Regions from separate parts of the Homo sapiens genome. Here regions 2, 3, 4, 5, 6 and 7 are each linked to region 1. Evidence: promoter capture Hi-C in 16 types of primary human blood cells and fetal thymus (Javierre and others, 2016). All regions are on one chromosome and are shown on one strand. Each heading gives the region's core, a stretch centred on a gene start or on the middle of the fragment in contact. The rest is flanking DNA. Distances are from core to core; before and after follow the strand shown.

Region 1 (2,700 bases), core at 124-2,623:
ACAATTTTCCTCATGAGTAGCATCATATTTGCATCATAAAAATGTCAGTGGCGGTAACTTGAGTATTGCATAGGTTGGATTTTCCTTTTCCTTAAAACTCTGTATCAATGGTCTTATTTTAAATAACGCTATCAATTTACCTGTGTGCCAAAAATAAGTATTTCAAACATCTCAGAGGTGAAGAGTTCAAAAGGCATCAGTTTTCATCTCCTCCACAATAATGAAGGATGTTATTAATACAACCTCATTGAACTGAGCTTCTCTATCAAATGGGTCTAATTAACATTACATGCGTCCCAGGGTGGTTATGAAGATTAAATAAGATAAAGCAATAATGGCTGGCATGCAGAAAATATAAACTAAATGCTAGTTCAATCTGAAAACGTGTTGTCACTTCTCACGATACGCAAGGAATCATCTCACTTCTTTGTCAATCAAAATTTCAATTCACTGATCATTTCCCGTCCTTCACCTAATAGTCATTTTCGCTTTGGATCCTTAACTCGACATCTAGGTGCTGTAGATGACATTCACTCATTTTATACGGGAGTAGGCATGGTAGTAAAACGTGGAGGCCACAAGAAGAACAAGCAACAAATGCCGCTAGTAATAAAAAGATAACTAACGTACCACCAGGATGAACCTATCAAAACAGCGTGAAGATACAGAGTAATGTCCCTTACCAAGAACACTTGTAAGAGGTTTGTAACAGCGGATCGACTGAACACAAACTTCTACAAGGCAGAGCTTACATGCTAGGACAACCCGCTGCTCATCCCGGCCACCTCTCCCTCTCGCGCAGGCAATCACAGCCATCACTACTTCGGGAACTACAAAGCAAGCTCACCAGTACCTCGTTAATTTTTGCTTCCCCAGAGACTGGAGGGCCAGAGGAGAAACGTGTTCGTTCTAAATTCCAGGCGACTTAAAAGGAGTGCGGGGACGACGGGGGAAACACGTGGATCCATGGGAGCGTCTCTCTCCGCAGTGGCAGAGGACAGTCAGGCGCCGGGGCCGGGCGCTCGCCAAGGGAACGCGGCGCAACAGAGGGGCGGCCGGCGGGCTGCGCGGGCAGCCAAGGGAGGCCCAGGAGGGGCATGGACCTGGGGCCGCGCGAGGACGGCTGCAGGAGATCCGCGGACACCCTCCGGCCCAAAGGGCCTCCCCTGCTGATGAGGTGGAGGGGAGGGAGGGCTGGCGGCGCGTTCCTCTTACCGTCGGAATTGGTCTCAGGATCGAAGCGCTGACCGCAGCCCCGGTTGTAGCACAGCAAGGCCATTTTCTTTTCCCACCGTCACAGGCAAGGCCCAAACACCGGGAACGGCAAGAGGATGCGTTTGCCACTCCCGTGTCGCTAGCACCGGTCTGACGACTGAGGCGGCTACCGGCTTCCGGAAACGATCCGTTGCGTTTCAGGAACCTTCGCGAATTTTCCGGTCGCGCAGGCGCAGAGGAGAAGGGACGAGGCGGAGGTAGCGGCGGGAGGCTGGCACTAGCCCGGGCCACGATAGGTCGGACTACAGCTGGTAGCAACTGGGGGTCGGAAGTGGAGCCCAGACAACAGCGGAGGAGAAATTTCCGGGGCAGAAAATGAAGGTGTCCGAGAGACTGACAATTCTCTTCTGACTTCCTCAGTGCTAACTGGCTTTGGGTATCTCCTGCAGCAAAGTGGCCGCCCCGCCCTCTCATCCCCTGCGACCCAGCACCCTTCTTCCTTGCCTTGAGGCTGCGCCTTAGACAGCCCGGTGGGTATCTGTTTACCCCTTAGCACTAAGGGATAAGTGCACAGTAAGTGCAGAATCATACAGTGTTTCCAAATCCTCAGGGTAGACGTGTGAGCTTAGTAAATGAGAGGAATAGCGGACGAACCTCTCCGTGTGTTTGTGTCTCGAGTGCCCTCATCTCAGGAGCAATTTTAATAACTTAACAGTTGCGGTCACATTACTTTGAAAATACAAAAAACGTAGAAATCAGAGTAGCAAAGAAAATTATGGATCTGATGCTGTGCCAGAATTGATCACAGTTGCTCTAAAGCCCTGGGGTAATAGTTAATATTTCATGTGAGCCTCCACTTAAACGATTTATCAATACTCAGTACACCACTCTTGGAACAGCTAGTAAAACTTCAGGTGCATTATAAAAAGTACAGTAATGCATTGGCTTCAACTTGCATATTTCCCAAACATGGGCGTTTGCAAGAAAAGCAAACACTTTTTGATAACATATACTGAAGGATCTTAAAATAAGATCAGCAGCTTATAAGTGAACCTAAAAATCTATACACTGTTTCCATTGATCTCAAGGTTATTTAGAGATCTGCTCACGTCCTCCTACCCCTAAAGACTTTTTAGTTTTTCATATTCTCTTTCTCTTCTTCTACCTAGAAGTATTAAATTTTCATATTGTGATCCACCATAGATAGGTATGTTTTCTTCATTTAACCTAACGTGAGTATTTTTCTATTTTGTTTCATAGTCATTGTTACAAATGACGGAGTATTCTGTTGAATAAATGCACTGTAATTTAACCTTTCTCTAATTTCCCCAACTTTATTATATATAAGTTACAGTGCTCAACCTGTGTATTGTTTTTCTTATTTCGAATTTCCCCCTTTAGGAAAATTTTTGGAAAGCGACAGTTCTGGGGTAAAGGGCATAAGGCTTTTTAAATAACTTTAAGATTTTAAAGATATATAGAGCC
Region 2 (2,700 bases), core at 171-2,670, 3.5 Mb after region 1:
TATCTTCAAGATGTGTTGCATCCTCATCCTCTGCTCTGTAATATTAAAATTTATCATCGAGATGACAGAATCTTCGATGACCTAATTAGTTGTATATTCCACTCTGAAATATAACTGAAACTGCAATACTAGTCAAAGGAAACACAAAATTTGAGAATTTTGTGTTCTGGAGAATTCTAGATGAACGGTGTGCCAAGCTTGGCTCAACTGTAATAATCCCAATTGTCATACTCTGTATCTTTGTTCATTATTTAAGTATAACTATATTAAAGGCAAAATATGAAGCAATTAACATAGAAATTTAATTTATAACCTATTACCAAAGTATTTCATATGATTCCACTTACGTTGACTCCTCAATAGGAGAAATGGATCCATCATCATCCAAAAATTTGTATCTACGACTGTCAAAATCTTCATTTTCTAAATCTTCACCAACATTCATTTGCTTCAATGATTCTTTCAGGTGGTGTTCATACTTCAGTTTTTCAATATAGTTAAAAAATCCTCTTGCAACAGCTTGCTATATATTAAAAACACCATAAGTATGTCGAGATTTTATTTTTAAGACCCAGCAGGTGCCTATGTTCAAAAAGGGCAATGCCCCCCCTTAGCAAAGACTCTGAATTTGCTATCTTAACTACTCCCCACTTGTGGACTTATCAAATGCTGATTATTAAAATTCACATTACAATTATGAATTTACCTAAGCTGGTAACATGGAAAAGTGAAGTACATATCTTGTCATGTCTGGGACTTACTAAAGGCATTTTAAAATGTAAAAACAGGAATAAGATTTCTAATGTTTACTATAATCACCTTAAACTTAAGAGATTAACTGAAGAGATTAACATGTATTAATCCTCCCAAATAAAATTTCAGGTTCTGGCAAGGGATCATAAATTAATTCTGAATTCATTCAACATACAACTCTCAAATATTTAAAAAAGTCTACTCCTAAGTATTAGCGTATTTTTCAGATAATTGGCTTAGAAACATCTAGGCCTTAAGAATATATCCACTGAACATAAGGCATGTGTGGTTTTAGTTTAGGTTACTGCAAAAGTAATTTCAAGTTATGTGAGCTTTTATTATCCCCACTGAGTTTTAGGGTTGTGTTTAAAGACCTGAGATGGGATAAGATCAAAGGATTTTATACAAAGAGCCTTGGAGCACTATCTTTTAAATATGGCAAAGTGTAGTTATATTAAGAGATACAAGTCAAGATTCAGTTGAAGGATAGGGTGGACTTTAGGGGTAAGTCAGTATAGAAGAGTATCAAAATTGCAGACAGTCTGTTCCCAGTATATCTGAGACAATTCTAAATTGGCCAACAAATCATTTTGGGCATCTTGAGTTATGTGTAGCCATGTATGTAAAATGCTGACTCACCTCAAACGTTAAAATTTTTCTCCAAGGTGCGTTTTTTTCATTCTCTGATTCTAAAAATGGGAAGCCAGATCCTCTGCTTCTAAATTGTTTCTTCTTATCTATTAGTGAGTATATAGGATTTCTCCTTCCTTCTGGTCTTCCCCGTGGTCTTCCTGTTGGCTGGTACCTCCTCTTTTTCTTTTTTTTATATCTCTTTTTCCTGTTCTTGAATCTTTCAAAAATAGCTTTTATAGTCAATGGTATTGGTTCAAAAGATGAGTCACTTGATGAATCACTTGCGTGAACACTTTCAGGTGTACGAACAAATTTTCGAATGGGGTTTCTTTTCTCCCCTTTAGGTGAGTAAGGGATACACTGAGTTTTAAATAAGCTGCTATCAGAAGAGTTATCACTAGAAAAATGGGAAAAAAATTAATTTCATCTTCTTTTCTTACTGCTTATTACCATTAATACCCAGTCCTAAATGTACATTTCTTCCAAGACCAACTCAGAAAACATGCCCAGAATTAAAAATTTTTTAAAGGATGGGCTCAGAACCAGCTAGCCTTTCTACTGATCATCCTATTTAAATAGCCCATAATGCTACAGCTCTTATTAAAGAGTTTTGTAGACATCGTCTTGCTGTCACCCAGACTGGAGTGCAGTGGTGCAATCACAGCTCACTGCAACCTCAAACTCCTGGAAACTCCAGGGATGCTCCTGCCTCAGCCTCCCAAGTAGCTAGCTAGGACTAATGGCATGCACCACTATGCTCAGCTTACAAAAAAACTGTATCTTTCAAGACAATGTATGAGCTCCAAAAGGCTGTATGGTTCGGTTCACTGCTAAGAGTGTCTGAGTAAAACAAACACAGCCTACCGAACCGGAGGATGTAGTCTGGAAGAGATGCTAATATGACCCAAAGAATACATTTTTTCTCGACGAATGTGTCCCATAATATATTCACATTTTGAATTTAAAGTATTTGCAATGCTATTATATCAATCTATGTAACTAGATAAACTTGGAAGGTCAGTGAAATCTAGTTTTCCTTCTTTCCCAATTCCTGAAAATTATCTTTACTGTCACTCATTATATACAATAGTTTCTCATAATTCAGATACAATAAACATGATTGAATCCACTCACCTTCGATTTGCAAGTTCCACAGCATCAGATGTCACATGGTCAAGAGAATCTATTCCTGATTTATCCATCAATTGCTCTTTGTTTTAAACAGTTTTCTGAAATTATGAAATTTAGTAAATATGACAAAGCTTCCCTAAATATTGACAGTATCTACTACAGTGTTGAACGTGGTCAGACTAT
Region 3 (2,700 bases), core at 104-2,603, 3.5 Mb after region 1:
TGTAGTCCCAGCTACTAGGGAGGTTAAGGCAGGAGAATGGAGTGAACCTGGGAGGTGGAGCTTGCAGTGAGCCGAGATCGCGCCACTGCACTCCAGCCTGGGCGACAGAGTGAGACTCCGTCTTAAAAAAAAAATTTTTTTTTCTTTCTTTTTCCTTTTTTTTTTTTTTTTTTTGAGAGAGGGTATGGCTCTGTTACCCAGGCTAGAGTGCAATGGCATGATCTCAGCTCACTGCAACCTCTGCCTCCCAGGCTCAAACCATCCTCCCACCTTAGCCTCCAGAGTAGCTGGGACTACAGGCACATGCCACACCCAGCTAATTTTTATTTTATTTTATTTTATTTTTTTATTTTAGAGGCAGGGTTTCATCACATTGCCCAGCCTGGTCTCGAACTCCTGGACTCAAGTGCTCCTCCCACTTCAGCCTCCCAAAATTCTGGGTACAGACATGAGCCACTGTTCCCATCCTGCCTGCTTCCCTTTGCCTTTGCCCCATGATTGTAAGTTTCCTGAGGCCTCCCCAGAAGCAGAAGCCTGTATAACCTGCAGAATCATGAGCCCATTAAACCTTTTTTATAAATTACCCTGTCTCAGGTATGTCTTTACAGCATGCGAGAACAGACTGATACAACACCGAAATGCAGATTTCCATTTGCTTTTGGTTTTAAAGCTCAGCTTCCTTTTAGTTTACCTGTAAAGCCTCTGTGTGGCCTAATCTTTCATTCAGTAGCAATTTACTATTACATACTATACTAGGTGCTCTGGTACATGCTGTAGTGGTATTAGTATATAGTAGTATGTACTCTACTGGTATATATGGTACATATTGTACTGGTACATACTGTGCCAGGTACTAGGAATACAAAGATGAATAAGACATAGTCCCTGACCTGGAAGAGCTTGGTCTAGTGGGGACACTGACATGCATAGAGGAGAAGACCAAGCTTCCCTTTCACTCTTTCTGAAGGCTCATTGAAAATAAACTGACAAAAAGCAGACTAACAGGAGAAAACGGCATACAAACTTTATTTAGTGTGCATAAGCATGAGGGAACCTCAGGAGAATGACTACTCAATAATCCAATGAGGTCCAGATGTTTATATACCCTTCTTCATAGAGGAAGGGGAGATGGTGGGCACGGGGGTATAGGAGTAAAAGATTTTTAGGGAAAATGAATGAGCTCCAAGAACAATGGCCTGGAAGAAAGTTATTTTGAACTCTGGGGGAGGTGGCAGGAAGATGAGGGGCAGAACTTTACTGTGAGCAAAGGTTATCTTACATAGATAATGTCTCCCAGGTAATCCTCGTGGAGCTGCACTCACAAGAATAAATGAAAAATCCAGATCGGGCACGGTGGCTCATGCCTGTAATTCCAGCACTTTGGGAGGCCGAGGCGGGTGGATCACCTGAGGTCAGGAGTTTGAGACCAGCCTGGCCAACATGGAGAAACCCCATCTTTACTAAAAATACAAAAATTAACCAGGCATGGTGGCAGGCACCTGTAATTTCAGCTACTCCGGAGGCTGAGGCAGAAGAATCACTTGAACGTGGGAGGCAGAAGTTGCAGTGAGCTGAGATCATGCCACTGCACTCCAGCCTGGGTGACAGAGTGAGACTCTGTCTCAAAAAAAAAAAAAAAAAAGCCTGCCTGGACATGGTGACAACTCCCAGTGTCATCTTTTTGGTGGTTAACCTGTTCTGGTTATTTGATGAGATTCCTAGAGAGGGGATTCACTGCTTTTTTTTTTTTTTTTTTTGGAAAGAAGCTTCCCTGCTCACAAAAGGAAGTTCCAGAGTCCTTCCAGAAGCTTCAGAAAAGGAAGAAGATCAGAGAGATGGGGAAGCTGAGGAAGGTCAGAGAGATCCCTTGGTTCTGAGGCTTATTTCTGAGACCTTTTAATATTCCTTAATTCAAAACATTCAGCATGCCAAAGTGCTATATTTTACAATTTTGTTTTCTAAGCCCCAACTCAGGTGAAAAAATAATTGAAATAAAATAGAATAAATCCTATCAGTATTGCCCTATATTGTTTTTTGTTTGTTTTTTGTCTTTTGAGATGGAGTCTTACTCCATTGCCCAGGCTGGAGTGCAATGGTGCAATCCTGGCTCACTGCAATCTCCGCCTCCCAGGTTCAAGTGATCCTCCTGTCTTGGCCTCTGGAGTAGCTGGGACTACAGGCATACACCACCAGGCCCAGCTAATTTTTGTATTTTTAGTGGAGACGGGGTTTTGCCATGTTGGCCAGGCTGGTCTCGAACTCCTGACCTCAGGTAATCCGCCTGCCTCAGCCTCCCAAAGTGCTTGGATTACAGGCGTGAGCCACTGCACCCGGCCAGTATTGCCCTATATTGTACTGTACACTGTTAAATTAAGTTTAGCCTAAAAGCTGCCTCCTTACATATTTTAAGTTTGGCCTAAAAGTTTCTCCATACCTAGTGAAATGTAATCTAACTGGATGTGTAAATGGACTTGTGAAAGGAAAATAAATCTTGGAACCCCAAAATCACTAAGCCAAAAGAAAAGTCAAGCTGGGAACTATGTCAGACACCTGCCTCCCATTTTATTCCTAAATAAGACAGCTACAAAGAGAAGAAGCTATATACCTCCCTCACAATTGTCCACAATACCTTGTGGACAAAGGACAGACAGAACTCAAAGTCATCCCTCTGAGGCTCACCTGAGACAAATGCATATCTGA
Region 4 (2,700 bases), core at 103-2,602, 3.4 Mb after region 1:
AAAAGATGGAACAGAGCCAGTGAATTTCCCTATTATCTCCTCTTGCTTCTTACTGTCTTTAAGCAAGTGGCTCAATTCCTTGGCTCAACTCCTACCCTATACCTCTAAAAAATATTTACAGCTTTTAAAAGTTTTTCTCAGCCTATCCTTCCTCTCCTGCCTGGCACTCTTAATTTCACTCCTGGTAGTAGCTCTAAATTATTCTACCGAGACACCGTCACTTGTTAAGCTCCTGTGGTGTGTATATTAGGGAGAAAGAGGGCAGTTAGCATATGGTCAGATGGAAGTTCTTTGATTACTTTTGTTCTTGCAGAGATCCCCCTTTTTTCTGGTGTTTATACATAAGAATTATTGAGGGTTCCTCCCCACTTAAATATCATTTGCTTATATTGGATGTGGATAAAGATGAAACAGTGAAACCGTTGCCATCAGAGAAACATCTTAAACTGTTCAAATCTTAAATGGCTTCAGTTGCATTTTGAAGAGTGGCAGCATTATAAACCAGTGACACTAATGTCATTACTGCTGAGGACAATTCTTCCTCTTGATCACTGGTTACTGAGGTTCATTCTCAATAGGTTAACAATACTAGAAACTAAATACACATACTTCTCCCTAGGCCTAAACTCTACAAAAAGACTGAATTAAAAATCAAACCAGGCCGGGTGTGGTGGCTCATGCCTGTAATCACAGCACTTTGGGAGGCCAAGGTGGGAGGATCACTTGAGTCCAGGAGTTGAAACCAACATGGGCAACAAAGCAATAGCCCATCTCTACTAAAAAAGAAAAAAAAAAATCAAATCCAAAACACCAATAAACACATTTAAGAGTTTGGGTTTTTTTCCCTCTCTTGTATTCTAAAATGAATGTATTAAAATTAAAGCCAAAAAAGGTAACATTTATTGCACATGTTGTGCCAGACATTGTTTCAAGAGCTTTAAACCTCACAAGAACCTGAGTACTTTCACTACATCTCTTTAAGAGATGAGGAAACAGACTTTTAAAGAAGTCCAGTAACTAGCTCAAAGTCACAGAGTTAGCCAGAAATTTAAATCCATTTGGAAGAAATCTATGTAACATTTTTATTTTTCAGACAGGGTCTCACTCAGTTGCCCAAAGTTTACTTACTGCAGTGGCACAATCATAGCTCACTGCAGCCTTGACCTCCTGGGCTCAAGCTATCCTCCCACCTCAGTCTCCCAAGTAGCTAGGACTACAGGTGCACACCACCATACCTGGCTAATTTTTAAATATTTTTGTAGAGATTAAGTCTCCCTATGTTTCCCAGGTTGGTCTCAAACTCCTGGGCTCAAGCAATCCTCCTGCCTCGGCCTTCCAAAGTGCTGGGATTATAGGTGTGAGCCACTGTGCTCAGCCAAGATCTTAAACATTATTCTATACTATCTCCCAAGATGTCCAGATGTGTTTGTCTATGAGAATTTAAATAAAAATCTACAGCCCTTTTTAATTTGCAAAAAAATAGAAATTCCCATTCAAAGCAGCTTCAGTAGAAGACTGAATGGCTGCTACCAGTTTGCTGCAGAATAGGCAGGCATATTGACCTCAGGTATGGCTAGATCCAGGGACTTGAACACTATCCAAATTCTCTCTCTGCGCTCCTTGCTGTCACACTCATTCTTTCAGACCAGCTTGTGGGGGACCACCTGGGAAAGCTCCAGGTTTACATCCTAACATGAGCCCAGAGAGGAAAATATTTGTCTCTGCTGTCTCCAGTGCCAATTCCTGTGAAAGACTCTGATTGCCCCAATTAGGTAACATACCTGTACCTCGGTTGGTCACAATGGCAATGGAAACAAGAACTGCGATTTGTCCAGTCTGGGTCACATGCCTACCCCGGTAGCCTAGAGGTCTGGGTCTGTACCAGAGGAGGAGAGAAAGGTGTTCGACAGAAAAATAAAATAAATAACTGCTAAACTACCTAGTATGTGTATACCCCTCTAGAGTTTACAAAGTGCTCTCATATGATTCATGCCTTTTGAGTCTCACAACCATCCTATAGAGAGGCGACATGAAGTATTACTAAGAAACGTGGTGGATTAAGATGGCTACAAATTCTTTGTCACTGCCTCCATTGAGAGATGGAGTTCATTTCCCTTTCACTTGAATCTGGCCTGGCTCCATGTTACTTAACCAATAAAATGTGATACAACTTACTACAACTCGTTCTCTGCCTCACCTTTTAAAGGACTTGCAGCTTCCACTTTATTCCTCTGCGAATGCTCACTCTTAAGATGCTCCCTCTCCAAACTAGCCACAATAGAGTGAGATGTCCAATCTACATGGACTGGTCATGAGTGGACACTCCAGTCAACAGTTCCAGCTGAGCTCTCAGCTGCCAGCCAACGTCAGCTGCCAGCCATAGTAAGTGACCCATGTTGGACATTCCAGGGTGGTTCGGTTGGCAGCAATTGATCGCCAAAACAGAAATGAAGACTCATTGATTTGAGGTCCCACGGCTAGAAAGTATCTGTGGTAATGCTAAGCCAGATGCTCTGACTCTAAGCCCACTTGGGCTTTGATTCCTCACTGCCTTCTATTAAAAACAGAACAAGTCTCGATTCAAAATCTCCAAGTGTAGAATTTCTGCCAAGGATGCAGGTTGAGGAAGTGAAGCATGTAATTTGGTCATTTATTCAGCTTTGTTCATTTATGCCAGGCAACTGAACAAAGTGCACTCCT
Region 5 (2,700 bases), core at 184-2,683, 3.3 Mb after region 1:
TGGGAGGCCTGAGGCAGGAGAATCACCTGAACCCAGAAGGCGGAGGTTGTAGTGAGCTGAGATCATGCCACTGCACTCCAGCCTGGGCAACAAGAGTGAAACTCTGTCTCAAAAAAAAAAAAAAAAAAAAAGAGAGAGAGAGAGAAAAGAAAAAGAAAGTGTCATCCTTTATAGGTTAGAGTTGTGTATCTTGCAATGCAAGTCTCAGAGGAAAAGTTTACACATTTTACACTAATGGCTTCTAATGAATCACCCCTACTGAGTTGTCCTTCTGTAGCTCCCTCCCACGTTGACCCTGGAGTTGGCCTTGTGACTTCCTTTAGCTACTGGGACATGAACAAATATGACACAAGCAGGGGCTTTCGATGTGCACTTGTGCCTTGCTCCTTGCTTTCTTGAAATGCTATCCTGAGACTGCCATGAAGAAACCTGGTCCAACTCCTTGAAGAGGAAAGACCCTGAGAAGAGAAAGCCTTGCTGTCCCAGCTATGCAGCCCACCAGCTCTCAGCCACATGAGTGAGCTCCAGGGAAAGCCAGCCAAAAATAGTCCAGCCAACCCAGGAATTGTGAGAAATAAAATGGTGGTTGTTTCAAATCACTAAGTGTTAGGGTGGTTTGTTATACAGTAATAGATAACTGACACACAGATCACTCACAGGCACTCCTGCAGTTACAAGTTCTAGATGAAATTCACCCAAGAATCAGTACTCTTGCTAGCGTTTTCTGTTATGAAGCATTCAGTTGAAGTCACTAAATCTAAGCTTAGCAGAGCATCACACTTCATGTAAATACCCTCTTTGAAAGTTCTTCATTGAATTGGTTACTGAGCCTAGTACTGTTTAAAATCCTTTGGCAGTCAACATAACAATGGGCTGGCAAAATCAGCTTGTAAGCTACCAAAAGCTTTAAACGTTAGAACTCCCTGGAACATCAACAGCAGGTATCATAGAGGTTAGGTGTGTTTATCTCTCCCACTTGATTGTAAGCTCCTTAATGACAATTACATTTATTGGCATGGTTTTATCATAGATCACGAAACATCAGAGATGGAGTTAGAGATCATCTAACCCACCACCTCATTTTACAGATGAGAAAACTGGGGCTAAGAGAAATCATCAGAGCCTTACAAATATCCAAGGTCCTGGAGCTGGCTCAGAGCAGAACTGGGATGACCAATTCACAGTTCTTTACGCTGTTAGTTGAACTCTTCTGTTTTTCCTTTGTGACATTTTTGCTATTTAAAATATTCTTCCCATGCTCAAAATATGTCTGTAACTTTCCTATGTGCTGGTGATAAAATCTAAACGATTATACATGGCCCCATGAGGTCTGGTGCAGCTTGCCCCTACAGAGATATTGGTACTGTTCTGCCCCTCACTCAGCACACTTTGCCCAACTGGCTTTCTTTCTGTTCCCCAAACCAGCAAGCTCTTCTCTTCTTCACAGAAAGCCCCTTCCACATGCTGTTCCTTCCACTGACGTGCTCTTTCCCAAACTCTTCACTTTGCTAAATCCCGCTTTCCAGAACCCATTAGAGTTCTGTGGTACATTATTTGGGAAATAATGTAAACAAAAAAATTTGGTGCACATAGAGGTAGCTCTCAGTCTCTTCAGCCAAGTTTTGGAAAGCTCAAAGACCAAACAGCTCAGGAATCTTATGGAGATTTGATTCCTAACAGACACCTTGTTGAGGCTCAACCAGTGGAACAAGCCACTCTGGTTTTTCTGTTTTTGCATCACTCCACTCAAGATTCCAAACCCTAGAAGAACGTCAGCCTTGGTTAGCTTGGCCACATGCCTACCCTCAGCCAGAGAAGAACAGGACACCTTGAATGAAAGCCTCCAAACATAATCATCAGGGCATTGTTACCAAAGAAGGGAAAGTTGATCAAGGATAACAAAACCAGTGAATGTCCACTACATAATCTCTCGGGCCTTGCCTTAAATGTCGTCTTCTCAGAGAAGCTTTTCTTAACCACCCCATCTGTTGCACGCTTTCATGACACTCCTTGTTTTTTTCACTGTTCTCATCATATTTTTATAGTTACATATTCTCATGTGTTTGTGTCTCTCGAATTCTCCCTCCACGAGAAAAGGGACTGCGTTTGCTTGCCCACTACTATACCTTCAATACCTAGCATGGAGCCTGGTGCATACAGGAACTCAATAAATATGTATTAAATCAATCAATAAATGAGCAAACAAATGAATGAATAATATAAGCCTTGTGAGTCTTCTGACTTAATCCATGTGATATTAACTTTGTAGGAAGAAGGAGAAAAGACAAAGAGAATATAATGAGTGTAGGCTGTGGAAGATTCTCTCTGCTGGGTCCCTTTGTGATGCTGTGGGGAGGACAAAGACTCGTGTGCAGGATAAATGAAGAAACACAACCTTGTGCATCAGAGATAAGCCATGTGTTGTGCTATGCTGTACTGTCCTTGAGGGATAAATTATGCAAGTAATGAAGTAAGAGGGGGAGGCCTAGAATGGTGGTCTGCATGTCTCAGAATGTTTGCAGAAGTAGGAACCCTCAAAACTGCTGCCTGACTGCAGCTGCCAGGAGCTGAGGTCAGGAATGTATGTTCATAAACCTACTCCCTTGGCCCCTGTTCATGCCTGGCTGTGCATTCTCTGTAGCAGAAGTTCCAGAGTTATCTGCCGATGGCTGCAAATCCACAGACAGGTTTTTCACAACT
Region 6 (2,700 bases), core at 84-2,583, 3.5 Mb after region 1:
GGGAAGGTAGTTTACTTTCATTCTTCTGAGAGTTGTTTTGTTCTGGAGTAAGTGTAATTTAAATATATTGGCAAGTGTTTCAGGACCAAAATTCAAAATACGTCATTAAACATTGAGAAAATAAGACTAATGTGAACTACAGTAGAATTTTTGTGATTAGATATGGAAGAGGACATAGTAGTGCATGTTGTTGTCTTATAAATATAATGAAGTGCTTTTCATTTCATTTGATATGGCCTGTAAGCCCTTCTATATTCAGGAGATTTAAAGATGAAATTTCTCTATAAATAACTTAAAAATTGAGATGAATAAAACACATTTAGTTAGCGACACCTTGAAGATGATTTGAAATACTGATGAATCTGGTACTTTTATTAAAATTTGAAGTAATTTAACTCAAAAAATTTGATTTCATTATGAGCAGATATTTAGCATGTTTTGGATGCGGAGAACTCATTAAAATACAAAATTACTTTTTTTGCATTGGATTCAGCTTTAAGTGAAAATTAATGCTTTTAACCTATTTTTTTATGTTCTCTTTTCCAGAACATCGAAGTAAAAAGAATTTCTGCAGTCAAAACCAATAGTTCTACCTACCATCATCTTCACACTTTTGTGAATAGAGAGACAGACACAAAACGGGTGATTGACTTATTGTTTCTTCATGCCCTCGCTTTATTATTTCTGTGTGCATTGAATTGAATTATATCTTAGTTATATGTATGGTGTTCCCAGATTTCAAAATTTGGACAATTGATAATAATAATCAAAACCTTTTAAATGCTTTGAATTTTCATGTCAGGCATATGATGGTTTAATATGAATTAAAGAAACTAGTTGGCTATTTAAATGGTTATTTTAAAATAGCAGATTTTAAAGCTTTTTTTATCATAAAATATTACATGCTATTTGTGGAAAATTTGGAACTGTACATATAAGTGTAAACTATTGGGAAAACACCAATTCTGTCACCAAAGTGGAATATAGTTAATGTTTTAATAAATTCATTATAACCTTTATTTAAATATAAACATATACACACACTTTTCAAAACATGATTTTTAGTGGCCACTTAATATTTCATGGTAGCATTTATTTAACCATTATTTTATTTTTTGCTTCTGTAAGTAATGTAAGCATTATCTTGCACGTTTTTATCCACATCTCTGATTATATATAAATTCCTGAAAGAGAAAGTATTGGCTCCAAACTGTGTAACATTTGATACAGATCATTAAATTGCTTTTTAAAAGCATCAGCAACATAGGAGAATGACCACCTTACCATAGCCTTTTCTGCACTGAATATTATGTTTTAAAAATTATTGCCAGTCTTAAGAGTAACAAATGATATATTGTTATTATAATTGCTATTTCTCTGTGTCAGTGGGGGTTTTAATTTTTTTCATGTTGAATATATTTCTCTACTAGGAAAATAAATTTTATAGCATTCCTGTGGCATTTAGAATGCAACAAATACACATTTTGGTTGACTGCTTAATAGCAGGTATTAAAATATTCAGTTAAGAACTAAAATGAATATCATCACAGAATGAACTTCTAAGATGCAAGAGTAAATCTGAGATTTATTTAAAATTGTAAAGTATTATTACAGTTTCGATATTATGATGTAGGAACAATAACTTCAATTTGTTGCTAACTGCTTTACTGTTTACTGCATTTTTGTGATTTGAAAAGATGCTACCTTTTAACTAAGATTGATGATGAATTTTTTTTTACCTAACTCTGTCAGCATAGGGTGCTGCTGATGGTATTAAATTAATATCCATAAGCTTTCTTTTTTGATAGTAACCAGAAGGCCTACCTCCTTTTCAATTTTTGGACTTAAAAATTAGATCAGTAGTTATAATGATAAAGGGTTAGAAAAAAGTTCGGGACCACAAACAAATTTTGTTTCTAACAGTTTTATGAAAGTATTCCCACAAACTAAAGCTTTGTGTACTGAATGAAGATATGATTTCTGAATATTTTCAGAAATGGGTTTATTACTGAACACATTTTTATTCGAATATTTTCTTTTATTTGCTGCTTTACTGTATCACTTAGGAAAAGTCTGTCCTTAAACTTTGGATTTAAAATGTGATGACCAATGTGCTTGGCTTTCAAGATAAAATTACCTCTGAATTTTCATCTGCACTCAACTTATATCACATGCACAATAATTTTAGCATCTTCCCTGGAGGAGTACGATATGATCTTTACAGCAGGTATCATATAAAAAATATTTGCACGCTTGGCATATATGTTTGGGTATTTTTCTTTAGCAGCTTTCTGCAAATAAACTTTCATTTGTTCAGTCAGCCTTTTTAGCACATAAGAGCTGCTATTGTGTGTGTGTGTGTTTTTAATATCCTGATAAAGTAATTCCAAAATCTTTTATATGTCATAATATATATCTTTGGCTGAAGAAGATTTATGAAAGTGGCCTGCTGTAGTCCTACTTACAGCCAGTAATTCTCTACATTTTGTTTTGCTACATTCGCTACCTCTACACACAACTGAACAAAACATCATACGCTTAAAAGTCCTACATTACATATTCATGGGCTTCATCATGTCTATTCTTTGTCAGTGACAGTTACGTAGCATTTTTTTCAAATGAACTTTGCATTCTGAAAATATTCAGTCAGATTAACTGTATTGTTTGTGGTGAGACCCAGAAATGTCTGCAGAAAAGTGA
Region 7 (2,700 bases), core at 112-2,611, 3.6 Mb after region 1:
ATTTGTGTGCAAGAACTTTAATTCTTTCTTTGGGGTAGTCACTCATGATTATGAAAGGATTTGATCACATTGTTTTTAATTGCAAGAAAATCTTTAGCATCTTCCCTTGTTATAAAACCAGTTACATTGAACCACCTATTTCTTATGTAATTCAATGGCCCAGAACAACTTACCCAAACTCCTGACCTACACAAAAACACATCACATAAAATCTAGGAACTGGGCTGGGCATGGGGGCTCACACCTGTAATCTCAGCACTTTGGGAGGCCAAGGTGGGAGGATTGCTTGAGCCCAGGAGTTCAAAACCAGACTGAACAACATAGACCCTATCTCTAAGAAAAAAAACTTAAAAATTAGCTGGGTGTGATGGCATGTACCTGCAGTCCTAGTTACTTGGGAGGCTGAAGTGGGAGGATTGTTAAATCCTAGGAGTTTGAGGCTGCAGTGAGCTATGATTACACCACCACACTGCAGCCTGGAAGACAGAGGGAGACCTTGTCTCTAAAAAGATAATAAAAAATAAAAAATCTAGGAAACTGGTTGAAAAAAAGATGTTATGTGCACTATCCTCTGTCTTTCTGTTGTTGGATGCAGAGCACTTAGTTGAAACCTTAGTAGAGAGGCTAAGCTCCAGAAGTATTTCATCCCCAAGGTTTCATTTCTAGGAGTACACCTCTTTTTTTTTTTTTTTTTTTTTGAGACAGAGTTTCGCTCTTGTTGCCCAGGCTAGAGGGCAATGGCGCGATCTCAGCTCACCACAACCTCCATCTCCCGGGTTCAAGCAATTCTGCCTTAGCCTCCTCAGTAGCTGGGATTACAGGCATGTGCCACCACGCCCAGTTAATTTTGTATTTTTAGTAGAGATGGGGATTTCTCCATGTTGGTCTTGGCTGGTCTTGAACTCCTGACCTCAGGTGATCCATCCGCCTCGTCCTCCCAAAGTGCTGGGATTACAGGCATGAGCCACCATGCCTGCCCTGTGAGTACACCCATTTTTATCAATACTCCATTGGAATAAAACAATTTGGATTTTCTGTGGAATTCTTATTATGTTGATGTCATTAGACTAAGAAGTGTTTTTTTTTTTTAAGGTAAATAACCACCCCCCACCTTTATCTTTCTTTCCTTTGTTCACCATTCCTCACCCTTTTCCCCCAAAACATATGTTTTTTAGTGGGGACTTACTTTGTGATTCAGTGATGTGGATGTGAAGTATTATATATTTAATAATGTGTGTCGGAATAATATGTTAACTGTTTTATATTTTCCTATTTTTAATACAACATTAGGATCTCTCTTTCCTCATCATGGTACATTTGAAGTAATAAAGAATACAGATCTCGATCTGGATAAAAAGATACCTGAAGATTACTGTCCTCTTGATGTCCAAATTCCTAGTGATTTAGAGGGGTCTGCATATATCAAGGTATTTGTCAAAATATTTTTCAAGTAATTTCTTACGAATAGCCTGAAGTTAATTTGTTAACTTTTTTTGTTTTTGTTGTCATATAGGTTTCAATACAAAAACAGGCTCCAGATATAGGTGACCTCGGCACAGTTAACCTCTTCAAACGACCTTTGCCCAAATCCAAACCAGGTATGGTTATGTTCTATTCTCTAATTTCTGGTCTTATTTGAGCTGACATTTTAAAATAAACTGAAGATAAATATAGGTAGGAAAAAATAGATAGTTTGAAGTAAGAACAATTCAAAATATACTTCTAAAATTTATCAATAAACTATTAGTGAATAGCTGTGCAATTTTTTTTTTTTTTTTTTTTTTGAGACCAAGTTTCTCTCTTGTTGCCCAGGCTAGAGTGCAATGGCGCAGTCTCGGCTCACCGCAACGTCTACCTCCCAGGTTCAAGCGATTCTCCTGCCTCAGCCTCCCGAGTAGCTGGGATTACAGGCATGCGCCACCATTCCTGGCTAATTTTGTATTTTTAGTAGAGATGGGGTTTCTCCATGTTGGTCAGGCTGGTCTCGAACACCCAACCTCAGGTAATCCACCCGCCTTAGCCTCCCAAAGTGCTAGGATTACAGGCATGAGCCACCAGCACCTTTTTTTAAGATTGGACTTATTTACTGGTTTTTTGTGTTAAAGAAGTGAGATTTTTATATTTTGGAAAGAATATAGCTTTGCACAGTGGCAGTATCAAACCCAGTGAGGTTTATCTGTGGCATGATTATTGCTAATTGATACTTCCCTCTACAGGAATTTAAACTTTCCTCTTCAGGAATGAAAGATTGGGGTGGTGGGGAACTTCTCAATACCCTGCCGGGATGATTTGTAACACAGTTGGCATTGGCAATTTTTGACAGTCTCTATAGAGACTGAATAGGAAAAAAAAGAATATACCGTAATGTAGTGTTTTCCTAAACTTTTGTCATATGTATTCAGATCACCATTTAAACTAGTTAATGCATAATATGGTTAGATAATTGATACATATATTTCTTGTCTTTCAGGTTCCCCACATTGGCAGACAAAATTAGAAGCGGCACAGAATGTTCTCTTATGTAAAGAAATTTTTGCACAGCTCTCTCGGGAAGCTGTTCAAATTAAATCACAAGTCCCTCACATTGTGGTGAAAAACCAGATTATCTCTCAGCCCTTTCCGAGTAAGAGCAGCCCTTTTTCGACTTTATGAACAGGACTTTGTGTTTTGGGGGACTAGGACAGAGAAGGTAGCTCTTAG

The links. The method cuts DNA at HindIII sites, captures the fragments that hold promoters and counts their contacts. A CHiCAGO score of 5 or more calls a contact.
Region 2: a fragment that was not itself captured here is called in contact with the fragment with the promoter of CHORDC1 in region 1 in 7 of 17 cell types (total CD4 T cells, non-activated CD4 T cells, naive CD8 T cells and 4 more); the score reaches 13.6 in total CD4 T cells.
Region 3: a contact is called between a fragment that was not itself captured here and the fragment with the promoter of CHORDC1 in region 1, in 4 of 17 cell types (non-activated CD4 T cells, activated CD4 T cells, total CD4 T cells and 1 more). The highest score is 7.3, in non-activated CD4 T cells.
Region 4: a fragment that was not itself captured here is called in contact with the fragment with the promoter of CHORDC1 in region 1 in 7 of 17 cell types (total CD4 T cells, naive CD8 T cells, activated CD4 T cells and 4 more); the score reaches 21.7 in total CD4 T cells.
Region 5: a contact is called between a fragment that was not itself captured here and the fragment with the promoter of CHORDC1 in region 1, in 1 of 17 cell types (non-activated CD4 T cells). The highest score is 7.3, in non-activated CD4 T cells.
Region 6: a contact is called between a fragment that was not itself captured here and the fragment with the promoter of CHORDC1 in region 1, in 2 of 17 cell types (total CD8 T cells and activated CD4 T cells). The highest score is 5.6, in total CD8 T cells.
Region 7: a contact is called between a fragment that was not itself captured here and the fragment with the promoter of CHORDC1 in region 1, in 3 of 17 cell types (non-activated CD4 T cells, total CD4 T cells and total CD8 T cells). The highest score is 7.5, in non-activated CD4 T cells.

The regions. Positions count from the first base shown.
Region 1 is chr11:90,221,676-90,224,375 of GRCh38, forward strand. It overlaps CHORDC1 (cysteine and histidine rich domain containing 1), which reads right to left and starts at 1,374. Exons shown (of 11, transcript NM_012124.3): 1 at 1,216-1,374. The coding sequence starts at 1,279. LOC124902812 (a long non-coding RNA gene) reads left to right here and starts at 1,484. Exons shown (of 2, transcript XR_007062978.1): 1 at 1,484-1,745. The HindIII fragment of the contact is 11,072 bases long and covers 1-2,700 here.
Region 2 is chr11:93,736,717-93,739,416 of GRCh38, forward strand. TAF1D (TATA-box binding protein associated factor, RNA polymerase I subunit D) reads right to left here. Exons shown (of 6, transcript NM_024116.4): 2 at 2,521-2,615; 3 at 1,393-1,783; 4 at 348-523; 5 at 1-35. The coding sequence starts at 2,588. Among named protein-coding and RNA genes, the nearest start is that of SNORA40, 2.8 kb to the left of the region's middle. RefSeq lists an enhancer at 1,202-2,401. The HindIII fragment of the contact is 2,451 bases long and covers 196-2,646 here.
Region 3 is chr11:93,767,584-93,770,283 of GRCh38, forward strand. No RefSeq gene overlaps it. Among named protein-coding and RNA genes, the nearest start is that of MED17, 15 kb to the right of the region's middle. The HindIII fragment of the contact is 822 bases long and covers 943-1,764 here.
Region 4 is chr11:93,656,798-93,659,497 of GRCh38, forward strand. No RefSeq gene overlaps it. Among named protein-coding and RNA genes, the nearest start is that of CEP295, 3.5 kb to the right of the region's middle. The HindIII fragment of the contact is 4,500 bases long and covers 1-2,700 here.
Region 5 is chr11:93,545,479-93,548,178 of GRCh38, forward strand. It overlaps a transcript of SMCO4 not described here. Among named protein-coding and RNA genes, the nearest start is that of SMCO4, 3.4 kb to the left of the region's middle. The HindIII fragment of the contact is 1,062 bases long and covers 903-1,964 here.
Region 6 is chr11:93,675,025-93,677,724 of GRCh38, forward strand. CEP295 (centrosomal protein 295) reads left to right here. Exons shown (of 30, transcript NM_033395.2): 6 at 547-642. Among named protein-coding and RNA genes, the nearest start is that of CEP295, 15 kb to the left of the region's middle. The HindIII fragment of the contact is 913 bases long and covers 878-1,790 here.
Region 7 is chr11:93,792,438-93,795,137 of GRCh38, forward strand. MED17 (mediator complex subunit 17) reads left to right here. Exons shown (of 12, transcript NM_004268.5): 4 at 1,291-1,427; 5 at 1,514-1,598; 6 at 2,471-2,623. It also overlaps the pseudogene LOC124902851. Among named protein-coding and RNA genes, the nearest start is that of MED17, 9.5 kb to the left of the region's middle. The HindIII fragment of the contact is 6,811 bases long and covers 1-2,700 here.